Linked DNA regions of Homo sapiens: regions 1, 2 and 3 are each linked to region 4. Evidence: promoter capture Hi-C in 16 types of primary human blood cells and fetal thymus (Javierre and others, 2016). All regions are on one chromosome and are shown on one strand. The core of a region is centred on a gene start or on the middle of the fragment in contact, and the rest is flanking DNA. Distances in the headings are between cores, read along the strand shown. Region 1 overlaps LOC105377731 (a long non-coding RNA gene). Region 2 overlaps LOC105377731 (a long non-coding RNA gene). Region 3 has its middle 8.4 kb from the start of C5orf47. Region 4 holds the start of LINC02995 (long intergenic non-protein coding RNA 2995).

Region 1 (2,700 bases), core at 103-2,602, 300 kb before region 4:
TTGAAACCAGCCTGGGCAACGTGGTGAAACCTCGTCTCTACAAAAAATACAAAAATTAGCTGGGTATGGTGGTGTGCCCGTAGTACCAGCTACTCAGGAGAGTCTGAGGCTGGAGGATTGCCTGAGCCCAGGGGGCAGAGGTTGCAGTGAGCAGATATCACACTCCAGCCTGGGAGACAGGGTGGAAAAAAAGAATCTTGCCCTATCACTTCCAGCCACCCAACTAATCCTCATCCCCACTCCCAGAAACAACATCTTTTAGCCTATTTGCTATTTATTCGGGTATTTGCTTCAATATTTCCAAGTAACATGTATATTAAGCTATCTCTTGATTTATCAATTGTGACCATTATTGTTTGACCTTCAATTATGCAAATGAAGATTTTATTCCATGCATATTTTCTCTTTCCTTTTTCTTCCAATAGAACTTATTATTTTATAAAATGTTTATACAGTATTTACATTATTATGGCATTGTAAAAACATGGTTCAACAGTATTCACCATTGAACCTGATAGTCTACTGTGATTAAGTTTCCTTTCTTGTACAATTTTTCTATGTGCTTGGTTTTCTTTGAATATCTGACTTGCTCTTCAACAGCTCTGCTAGCCACTCCATATCATTTTCTCTATGGTCAAACCATCAGATAATGCATCAGTTCAGTCTTTTTCTTGAAGAGCCTGCTCTTCCTGATCTATAAGCTTTCTGCTTATCCTGGTATTTTCATTCACCCATTTCCTGGGAAATCTGTTTACTTTTCTCTTCTGTTGGTTCCTTCTTCTCCTGATTCTCTGCCTTCTTTGTTTTCCTGGATACTGTCCTTCAGTAATTTTCTCAGGAAGGGTGTGCAAGTGGTGAATTCTTGAGATCTTGCATGCTTACAATGTCTTAATTTTGTCTTTTCGCTTGATTTATAATCTGGCTGGATATAGATGTTGAAATTCATTTTTCCTAAGCTTTTGAAGTAAGTTCCCTATTTTTCTCTAGCTGTTGAGAAGTCTGTTACTATTTTATTTCTTGATATTTTTGTATGTAACTTGGCTGTTTTTCTTTTCTTTTCTTTCTTTCTTTCTTTTTTTTTTTTGAAACTGGGTCTTTCTCTTTGGCCCAGGCTGGAGTACAGTGGTGTGAACATGGCTCACTGCAGCCTTTAACTCCTAGGCTCAGGCAATCCTTTTGCCTCAGCCTCCTCAGTAGCTGGGATACAGGTGCATGCCACTATGCATGGCTAATTCTTATTATTTTTATTTTTTTGTATAGATGGTGTCTCACTTTGTTGCCTAGGCTGGTCTTGAACTGGTGAGCCCAAATGATCCTCCCACCTTGGCCTCCCAAAGTGCTGGGATTATAGGCATTAGCCACTGTATCTGGACTGGCTTTTTTTTTTTTTCTCTGTGGATGTGTTCAGTATCTTTTCTTTATCTTTGCTGTTCTGAAATTTCAGAATTATGTTCCTTTGCATAGTTATTGTTATCATTTGTTATGTTGGAGGCTTTGAAGGCTTTTAAAATCTGGAGATGCATGCTTTGCAATTCTGTAAACTTTTCTTGAATTTTTTTGTGATAATTTCCATTTCACCATTTTATCTGATGTCATTTTCTGGAATTCCTATTACTTAGATTTTCATGTGAGGCTTCTCAAATTGCTTCTCTAATTTCTTTTCAATCTTTCCTTACCTATTACCATCTTTTTGGCTCTTTATTTTGCAAGGGATATTTCAGGAGGATATACTGAACTTTATGTTTATCTAAGCTTTTTATTTTAAATATCCTTTATCTTCCTCTTATTGAAGGATTCGTTCATCTCAGCAATAAACAAAAATTTTTACTCAGAGCAATTTCTCGTTCTTTGACTTTTCCTTTTTTATAGTATGCATCTCCTGTTTCATGGGAGCAATATCTTCTCTTATCACACAGAGAATATTAACTATGATTCTTCGATGTTTTTCTGAGCTGTACATGATCTCTCTGTGCTCTGAGTTTCTTCATAGTCTTTTATGTTTGGTCTGTCTTTCATGGTGGTATTCTTCAAGATTATGGGGATTCTCGTTTCTCGGTTTATGTTTAAATCAGAAGCTGATTGGAAGCTCTGTGTGCTCCTTTTCAAGGAGATATAATTCACATACCATAAAACTCACCTCTTTTTATAATCCTTTGGATATATACCCAGTAATGGGATTGCTGGGTCAAATGATATTTCTGGTTCTAGATCCTTGAGGAATTGCCACACCATCTTCCACAATGGTTGAACTAATTTACATTCCCACCAACAGTGTAAAAGCATTCCTATTTCTCCAGCATGTATACACCATGGAATACTATGCAGCCATAAAAAAGAATGAATTCATGTCCTTTGCAGGGACACGGATGGACCTGGAAGCCATCATTCTCAGCAAACTAACACAGGAACAGAAAACCAAGCACTGCATGTTCTCACTCATAAGTGGGAGCTGAACAAAGAGAACACATGGACACAGACAGGAGAACATCATACCCGGGGGACTGTCAGGGTGAGGGGCAAGGGGAGGGATAGCATTAGGAGAAATACCTAATGCATGTGGGGCTTAAAACCTAGATGATGGGTTGACAGGTGCAGCAAACCACCATGGCACATGTATACCTATGTAACAAACCTTCACGTTCTGCACATGTATACCAGAACTTAAAGTAAAAACAAACAAACAAAAAATAAAGCAAACTC
Region 2 (2,700 bases), core at 156-2,655, 290 kb before region 4:
GAGTTGTGCAACCATCACAATTAGTTTTTAACACTGAAAAATCAGGAGATTTCATAGAATGCCTTGAAAAATCAGAGGACCTCGTAGCACACAGCTGGCATCACAATGCTAAATGGGACTTGCACTCACAGGTCTCCTAGGGCCCCGCCACTTCCTGCTGTGCTGACCTGGCCACTGCGCTCATTTCCTAACTGCATAGCCCTGGAGGGATGTGAGCCCGGATTCTAGTCCAACCCCTGATTGGACAGATGGAGAAACTGAGACCTGGGTAGGCCACGCTGCTTATTCAAGGTCACACAGTGATATAGCTGTGAGTGGAATCCGCGTTTTGGACTCCCACTGCCCTGTGGCTCTTTCCACAGGTATTTAAGCTAATCATCAGCATTTTAATCTTAAGGGCAGTGTAACCCTGCGTTTATGACAGGCTTTGTGCTGAATTTGATTAATGTGCACTTTGAGGACATCTCCAGTTTCCTTTGGGAAAACACCCCAAGTAATCATGTGGTTTGGGCAGGGCAGGTCCTGACCCCCTTTCCTGCAGGAGTGCTAGTGACTTCCCAGGCCTGATGGTCAGGCTGCATTGCCTTAGTGTTTGGATTAGCATTGAGGAATTTTGTTGGAATTATTGGGAAAGAGAAGCTCTCTTCCTACTAAGGCCCTGAGAAGCTGAGATGTCAGCTGCAGCCTGGTGGGGGGCCATCTTGCCATTGTGTTGAAAGAGACTGCCTGAGATTTGAGTCAGTACAGAGGAAAGAAGAACCAAGAGACAGACAAAGCAGATTTCTCCCTTTCTCATACTAACCAGGCCTGACCCTGTTTAGCTCCTGAGATCAGGCAAGACCAGGCATGTCCAGGGCGGTGTGGCTGTAGACAGAGAAAGCAGATTTCTAATGGCACCATTTGAGCACACTGATGTAGCTGTGCCTGAAACCCTAATCTTTTTAGTTTTCAGTTTAATAACTCAATATATTCTATCTTTCCTTTTTTTTTTTTTTAACTGGATTGAGTTGGATTTCTGTCACTTGCATTAAACTGATCAATCCAAAGTATATAAAACACTAAATTCGGCCAGGCGCGGTGGCTCATGCCTGTGATCCCAGCACTTTGTGAGGCCAAGGCGGGCGAATCACCTGAGGTCAGGAGTTCGAGACCAGCCTGGCCAGCATAGTGAAACCCTGTCTCTACTAAAAATACAAAAATTAGCCAGGCGTGGTGGCAGGCGCCTGTAATCCCAGCTACTCGGGAGGCTGAGGCAGGAGAATCGCTTGAACCTGGGAGGCGGAGGTTGCAGTGAGCTGAGATCGAGCCATTGCACTCTAGCCTGGGTGAGAGTGAGACTCCATCTCAAAAAAACAAAACAAAACAATGCACTAAATTCACTCAAAGAATATTTATTGAATACTCACACTATACCAATGTTTTAAAATACATTATCTCATTTTACTCTTATAGTAAGACAGTGATGTGGGCAGCTATAATTATTTCTAGTTTACAGGGGACTCGATGGGAGGTTAGAGAGATCACTCACCCAAGGATACTCAGATTGTGAGTGGATGGCCTGGGGTTTCCACTTCAAGGCTGGCTCCTGTGCCCCAGCTCCCTGGGACATCACAGGAAATGCTTTTCAGTTTCCCAAGGACCGTAAACATATCTTTCCTCCCCATCCTCAAAGTATTCCAGACTTTGGAAGTGTGGAAAAGTTGGAATATATGGGTGTTGGAATACATTTAAAAAATCCCACCATTCACAAATAACCCACACCAATTTTAACTTAATTCTAGATTTTCAGTGCAGTTTTTTAATACATGAAAGGTTATATAAAAGGAATCAAATATCAGTATGTACAATGTCATATTCTGCATTCTCATTTAAAATGATGTCAAAAGAATGAGGAATAGTCTCTTTTAAACAATTAATTAATTAATCAATTTTTGTAAAGACAGGGGTTTCACTATGTTGTCCAGGCTAGTCTCAAACTTCTGGGCTCAAGTGATCCAGTGATCCTCTTGCCTTGGCCTCCCAAAGTGCTGGTATTACAGGCGTGAAGCCACCGCGTCCAGGACTGTCTTGAAGGTACTTTCGCCTGAGTTAGAGGGAAGAGGCACGCTGAGGCTTTGGGGTAGACTTAGAGCTGGCCCCGGCTTGTACAGGATGTGGCCCGGCAGCCACCAGGTGATGAAGGGAAGCCTTCCACGTCTATTTCCTCCACCGACAGAGCGGGCTGTAGTGGAGTTAGTGTAAGGGCGAGTCCCGTAGAGACCTGGCCGTCCGTGTGAAGAGGTCTTCAAACCCGTTTGGCGTGAGGATTCCCCTGCCTTTGCCCGCTTGATAAAAAACGCGCGGTGTTCTCTCTCCATGGCCGCCAGGTGGCGATGTGGAATAGGAAACGAATCGCTGCTCAGTGCGTGAAAGGCGAAATAAAGGGAGAGCAAAGCGGAGATTTTTAGAGAAAAGAAGGAAGCAAGCTGAAAATGCACAGCCACTAAGGGTGTGTGCACCATGCAGAGTGAGGAGGGAGGGCGAGAGCCCGGCAGAAGTAGACACACACTGGGGGAGAAAGATACAGCAGCAAGGAGCCAATGAACACAGTGTCATTAAAAACCTCCTATGAGAGGAGGTTTTCCTGTGAGTTCTGGGGCCACAGGGATCAGGTTTGGATGAGGTTCAGGCACTTACCGGTGATGCGATTGTGGCAAGTTG
Region 3 (2,700 bases), core at 129-2,628, 400 kb after region 4:
TATGTCTTGATGACGTGTCTAGTGTTGTCAGTGGAGTATTCAAGTCCCCCACTACTGTTGTGTTGCCATCTGTCTCATTTCTTAGGTCTAGTAGTAATTATTTATAAATTTGGGAGCTCCAGTGTTAGGTGCATATATATCTAAAATTGTGATATTTTCCTTTTGGACTAGTCCTTTTATTATTATATAATGCCCCTCTTTGTCTTTTTTAATTGTTTAAAAGTCTGTCTTGTCTAATATAAGAATAGCTACTCCTGCTCACTTTTGGTGTCCATTCGCGTGGAATATCTTTTTCCACTCCTTTACCTTAAGTTTATGTGAGTCCTTATGTATTAGGTGAGTCTCTTGAAGACAGTAGATACTTGGTTGGTTAATTCTTACCCATTCTGCCATTCTGTATCTTTTATTGGAGCATTTAGGCTATTTACATTCAGTGTTAATATTGGGGTGTGAGGTACTATTCTATTCATTATGCTAGTTGTTGCCTGAATACCTTGGTTTTTCTTTGTGTTACTGTTTATAGGCCCTGTGAGATTTATGCTTTAAGGAGGTTCTATTTTGGCATATTTTGAGGTTTTGTTTCAAGATTTAGAACTCCTTTTTGTACTTCTTGTACTGCTGGCTTGGTAGTGGCAAATTCTCTTTGCATTTGTTTGTCTGAAAAATACCTTTCCTTCATTTATGAAGCTTAGTTTTGCCGGATACAAAATTCTTGGCTGATATTTGTTTCGTTTAAGGAGGCTAAAGGTAGGAAGGACCCCAATCCCTTCTAGCTTGTAGGGTTTCTGCTGAGAAATCTGCTGTTAATCTGATAGGTTTCCCTTTGTAGGTTACCTGATGCTTTTTGCCTCACAGCACTTAAGATTATTTCCTTCATCGTGACTTTAGATAACCTGATGATTATGTGCCTAGGTGATCTTTTTGCGATGAATTTCTCAAGTGTTCTTTGAGCTTCTTGTATTTGGATGTCTAGATCCCTGGCAAGGCCAGGGAAGTTTTCCTTGATTATTCCCTCAAATATGTTTTCCAAACTTTTGGATTTCTCTTCTTCCTCGGGAACACCAATTATTCTTAGATTTGGTCATTTAACATCAGCTCAAACTTCTTGGAGGCTTTGTCCAGTTTTAAAGAATTCTTTTTTCTTTGTTTTTGTCAGATTGGGTTAATTTGAAAGCCCTATCTTCGAGTTCTGAAGTTCTTTCTCCTACTTGTTTGATTCTCTTGTTGAGACTTTCCAGTGGATTTTGCATTTCTTTGTGTCTTTCATTTCCAGAAGCTGTGATTGTTTTTTATTTATGCTATTTCTCTGGAGATTTTTTTATCCATATCTTGTATTATTTAAAGAATTTTTTTAAGTTGGTTTTCACCTTTCTTTGGTGCCTCCTTGAGTAGCTCAGTAATTGACCTTCTGAATTCTTTTTCTGGCAATTCAGAGATTTCTTCTTGGTTTGGATCCATTGCTGGTGAGTTAGTGTGACCTTTGGGGGGCATTAAAAAACTCTGTTTTGTCATATGACCAGAATTGTTTTTCTGGTTCCTTCTTACTTGAGTAGACTATGTCAAAGGGAAGATATGGGGCTCAAGGGCTGCTGTTCAGATTCTTTGGTCCCATGGACCCTTAATGTGGTATTCTCTTCTCTCCCCTAGGGATGGGGCTTTCTGAGAGCCACACTGCAGTAAATGTTTTTGCTCTTCTGGGTCTAGCCACCCAGCTGAGCTACCAGGCTCAGTGTCTGCAAAGAGTCCTGTGATGTGATCCATCTTCAAGTCTCTCAGCTGTGGATACCAGCTCCTGCTCTGGTGAGGGTCCTTGGTGAGGATCCTTAGCTGTAGTTTTGTTTAGTGTGCTAGCTTTCTTGAATGCTGGTTGCATTAGCAGTGAAGTTGTCACATGGACAGACTCAAGACTTCTGGTTATCCAGGATGTTGCAGACAGTGGAATTAGCTGTTGTCTTCTCCCTTCTTGGAGAAGGGTTTTTATGAGTTGCCATGACAGCATGAGTTGGTTGGCCACCAGCCAGGAGGTGGCACTTTCAAGACAGCATCAGCTGTAGTAGTATGGGGAGAATACAAGCTTGCCCTAAACACCTGGATAAGTATTCGGGTTTCTCAGGCGATGGGCAGGGTCAAAGAGATCCCACGAGTTAAGGTCTTTTGTCTTCAGCTACCAGGGTGAGTAGAGAAAAACAATCAGGTGGGGGCAGGGCTGGTGTGTCTGAGCTTAAAGCTTTTCTTGGGCAGGGGCTTGCTGTGGCTGCTGTGGGGATTGAGTGTAGGTCTCAGGCCAATGGAGTTATGTTCCCAGGGGGATTAAGGCTACCTCTGCCGCATCATACAGGTTGCCAGGGAAGTCAGGGAAAGCTGGCCATGACAGGCCTCAGCTCCCACGCAGCCAGCAAGGCCAGTCTCACTCCCTCCATGCCCCACCAACAACACACAAAGTTTATATCCAGTCATCCAGTGAGCAGGGCTGAGATCTTGCCCCAGACTACAAGCCTCTCCACTAAGAAAACAAGCAGGGCTTTGAGGCTTTGCCCTTCTCTGCTTGCTGCAGCTTCTGTGCTCACATCTGCACTTCCCATTTGCCCTCCTCCTCCCTGCTTGATTCTGCCCTGGAAAATTCATGCTTGGTCAAAATTATGACAAAGTTCAGCTGGATGTTTCCTTCTCCCTGTGGTCCTTCCCCAATTCCACTGGCAG
Region 4 (2,700 bases), core at 117-2,616:
TAAATAAAGGTAAATTACTTTAAAGCTCAGACCGTCAGGTATCCCAAGGAGAGACGGCATGCGTGTGAGTGTCATGTGTGTGAGTATCATGCATGTGAGTGGTTCCATCCTTAGGAAGAAAAACATGGGAGGAACCTGCAGTGTGCAGCCTCTGTCCAGACCCACCTGCTGAGGGGCCCAGGCACCCCAAAGTATACCCTAAATATGATCAGATCCAGGGAGCATTGTGACTGAGTTTTCAGGTTAGCCTCTGTGCAACCTGACTTCCCATGGGCAGGGTGGAGTGCTGGGAGCATTGATTCAATTCTTCCCTTGAGCACTCTTCACCCCCATCTCTCTCCAGAAATGTACCGAGAGTCTAACTGCTCTATACTCTGGGAGGAACACGAACATGATTCCACCTCAGTTCCAAGCTTTCTGAGAACCATCCTGGGAACCAGCAAGCATGACAACTCTCCACCTTCTGCATCAGTCACTTGCAAGGAGGCCAGTGGGCACAGTTCATGCTACTGAGTGAGATGGCGCCCAGAGGCCAAGGCCAAGGGCAGGGCTGCATTTTCTGGTTCTTTTATATTTGTAGCAAGATACTCTTAGTGGAAGAGCCCAATATCTGGGCTTGCCTAAAAGTCTCCTTAGCTAGATCATTCAATTTATGAGCTTTCCATCTTGTTGCAGTGTTGCTTAATTTCTGCCTCTCCATAACAAGAATCACCTTTCTTCCAGTCTCTAATGCATTGTTCTCACTTTCCTATAAACCCTCACCAACATTCTCCTCCCACTACTGGCTTCTCCAGTGCCCTTTAGGCTTTCTCTGACACTTTCTTCAAAGTCCTTTCAGCTTCTGCCCTCTGCTCAGTTCCAAAGACGCTCCCACATTGGTAGGTTTATGTTCCATCAGCACCCCACTTCTGGTACTAAGCTTTATATCAGCTATCTACTGTTAGGCAACAGCCAAAACTTAGTGACTTAAAACAGACACAAACATATATTATCTTTCACAGTCTCTGTGAGTCGGGAATTCAGGAACAGCTTAGCTGGGTGTTCTGGCTCCAGGTCTCTCATGAGGTTGCAGTCTAGATATGAGCTGGGACAGTGGTCATCTGAAGGCTGGAATGAGGCTGGAGGATCCACTTCCAAGGTGGCTGACTCAGATGGTTGGCAAGTTGGTGCCGGCTGCGGCAAAGGCCTTGTTTTCTCTCCAGGTGGACCTCTCCACAAGGCTACTTGAGCAGCCTCACAACATGGTAGCTGCTTCCCCAGGGCAAGTGATCCAAGAGCAAAGGTTGAAGTCACAATGCCCTTATGACTTAGCCTTGGATGTGACACACCATCACTTCTGCAGTATTCTACTGGTAACACTGACCAGCTCTGATTCAGTTTGAGAAAAGAGGACACAAAAGCATGAATAACAGGAGGTAAGTTTCACTGAGGGCCTGTGGATCATCTGGGAGCTGTCTACCACCAATAGTCAAAAGAAAAAATTAGGTATAAATATATGCATACGTGTGTGTATATATATATGTATGTATAATTTTAAAAATATATATTTATTATAAAAGTAATTAATATTATTTGTAGAAATTTAAAAAAAATTTAGAGTAGCAAAAATAAGACAGTAAAGATTACCCCATAATAGCTCCATGCAGAGAAAAATCATTATCAACATTTTGGGGTATATCTTATCAGCCTGAACTTTAAACATTTTTACAAAAATGGAATAATACTGGACAAAATCTTTCATGCTATCAATTTTTTCATTTACTAGTACAGTCAAAAACACAGTTTTATTGCATCTTTTTTCATGGTAACATTATATTCCTGCCAGTGATTAAGATGTAATTGATTTTTCCAATGCGCTATTACTGGACATGTAAAGGTTCTCAAATTGTTACATCATTAACAAAACTGGAATGACCATCTTCAGAGCTAACTTGCTGTCTTTATCCCTGATCTTTCCTTAGGATGGATATAGAATACCAGCATCAGCAAGTGTACACGATTTAAAGCACATTTGGTATCTATTACCAAGCTGCCCTTCAGAGAGGTTGTCTCGTTACACATTCCACAGCTGTGACTGAGAAACCGTCTTGTCGCATTTGACAATCCAGGTTACTATCTAAAAACTTGAGTTTGTAAGAGCAACACGCCATGAGATAATATTCGTGCAAATGTAACTGACAAAAGACTAACATCCCATAATACTAGAGCACCTACAAACCAAGAAGATAAACATCCCATTGGGAAAGTGTAAAAATATGAACATAAAGTTTACAGAAGAAAAAACACAAATGGCTCATAAACACACAAAAAGATGATATTGCTTCCTGGTAATTGGGGAAATGCAAACAAAAACTACAATGAAATATCGTGGTATCGTGTATCAAATTTGCAGAGCATAAAATAGATTACATTCGCAACCAGCAACTACAACCCAACCTTCAGCCTCACTGGACTTCTTGCCATTCCCCAAACCATATCCACGCCCCTCTCCACAGGCTGTTCCTTCTGCCTGCATGCCCTCGATGGCACCAAGGGGGATGGGCACACTAACACAACTGCTGGGAATGGGAAAGTTTCAACCTCTTGGGAATAAAATCTAACAGTATTTATTGGAATGTAACCTGTGCATACTCCACAGCTGGGCCACTACCCTGCAAGAACCCCTCTGGCTGCTGCACAAAGCTCTTCTCTGCATCCTTT

What was found. The method cuts DNA at HindIII sites, captures the fragments that hold promoters and counts their contacts. A CHiCAGO score of 5 or more calls a contact.
Region 1: a contact is called between a fragment that was not itself captured here and the fragment with the promoter of LINC02995 in region 4, in 1 of 17 cell types (endothelial precursors). The highest score is 5.8, in endothelial precursors.
Region 2: a fragment that was not itself captured here is called in contact with the fragment with the promoter of LINC02995 in region 4 in 6 of 17 cell types (endothelial precursors, M1 macrophages, M0 macrophages and 3 more); the score reaches 15.2 in endothelial precursors.
Region 3: a contact is called between a fragment that was not itself captured here and the fragment with the promoter of LINC02995 in region 4, in 3 of 17 cell types (neutrophils, erythroblasts and megakaryocytes). The highest score is 7.9, in neutrophils.

The regions. Positions count from the first base shown.
Region 1 is chr5:173,274,192-173,276,891 of GRCh38, forward strand. All of the region lies in intron 2 of LOC105377731 (a long non-coding RNA gene), which reads left to right. Among named protein-coding and RNA genes, the nearest start is that of MIR12118, 28 kb to the right of the region's middle. The HindIII fragment of the contact is 796 bases long and covers 955-1,750 here.
Region 2 is chr5:173,291,752-173,294,451 of GRCh38, forward strand. All of the region lies in intron 3 of LOC105377731 (a long non-coding RNA gene), which reads left to right. It overlaps LOC124901136 (a long non-coding RNA gene), which reads right to left. Exons shown (of 2, transcript XR_007059055.1): 1 at 2,677-2,700; 2 at 1,376-2,394. It also overlaps the pseudogene RNA5SP200. Among named protein-coding and RNA genes, the nearest start is that of MIR12118, 11 kb to the right of the region's middle. RefSeq lists enhancers at 718-967, 2,095-2,264. The HindIII fragment of the contact is 2,998 bases long and covers 1-2,700 here.
Region 3 is chr5:173,979,370-173,982,069 of GRCh38, forward strand. No RefSeq gene overlaps it. Among named protein-coding and RNA genes, the nearest start is that of C5orf47, 8.4 kb to the right of the region's middle. RefSeq lists an enhancer at 1,985-2,486. The HindIII fragment of the contact is 1,387 bases long and covers 686-2,072 here.
Region 4 is chr5:173,578,268-173,580,967 of GRCh38, forward strand. LINC02995 (long intergenic non-protein coding RNA 2995) reads left to right here and starts at 1,367. Exons shown (of 4, transcript NR_027108.2): 1 at 1,367-1,415; 2 at 1,962-2,108. The HindIII fragment of the contact is 2,712 bases long and covers 918-2,700 here.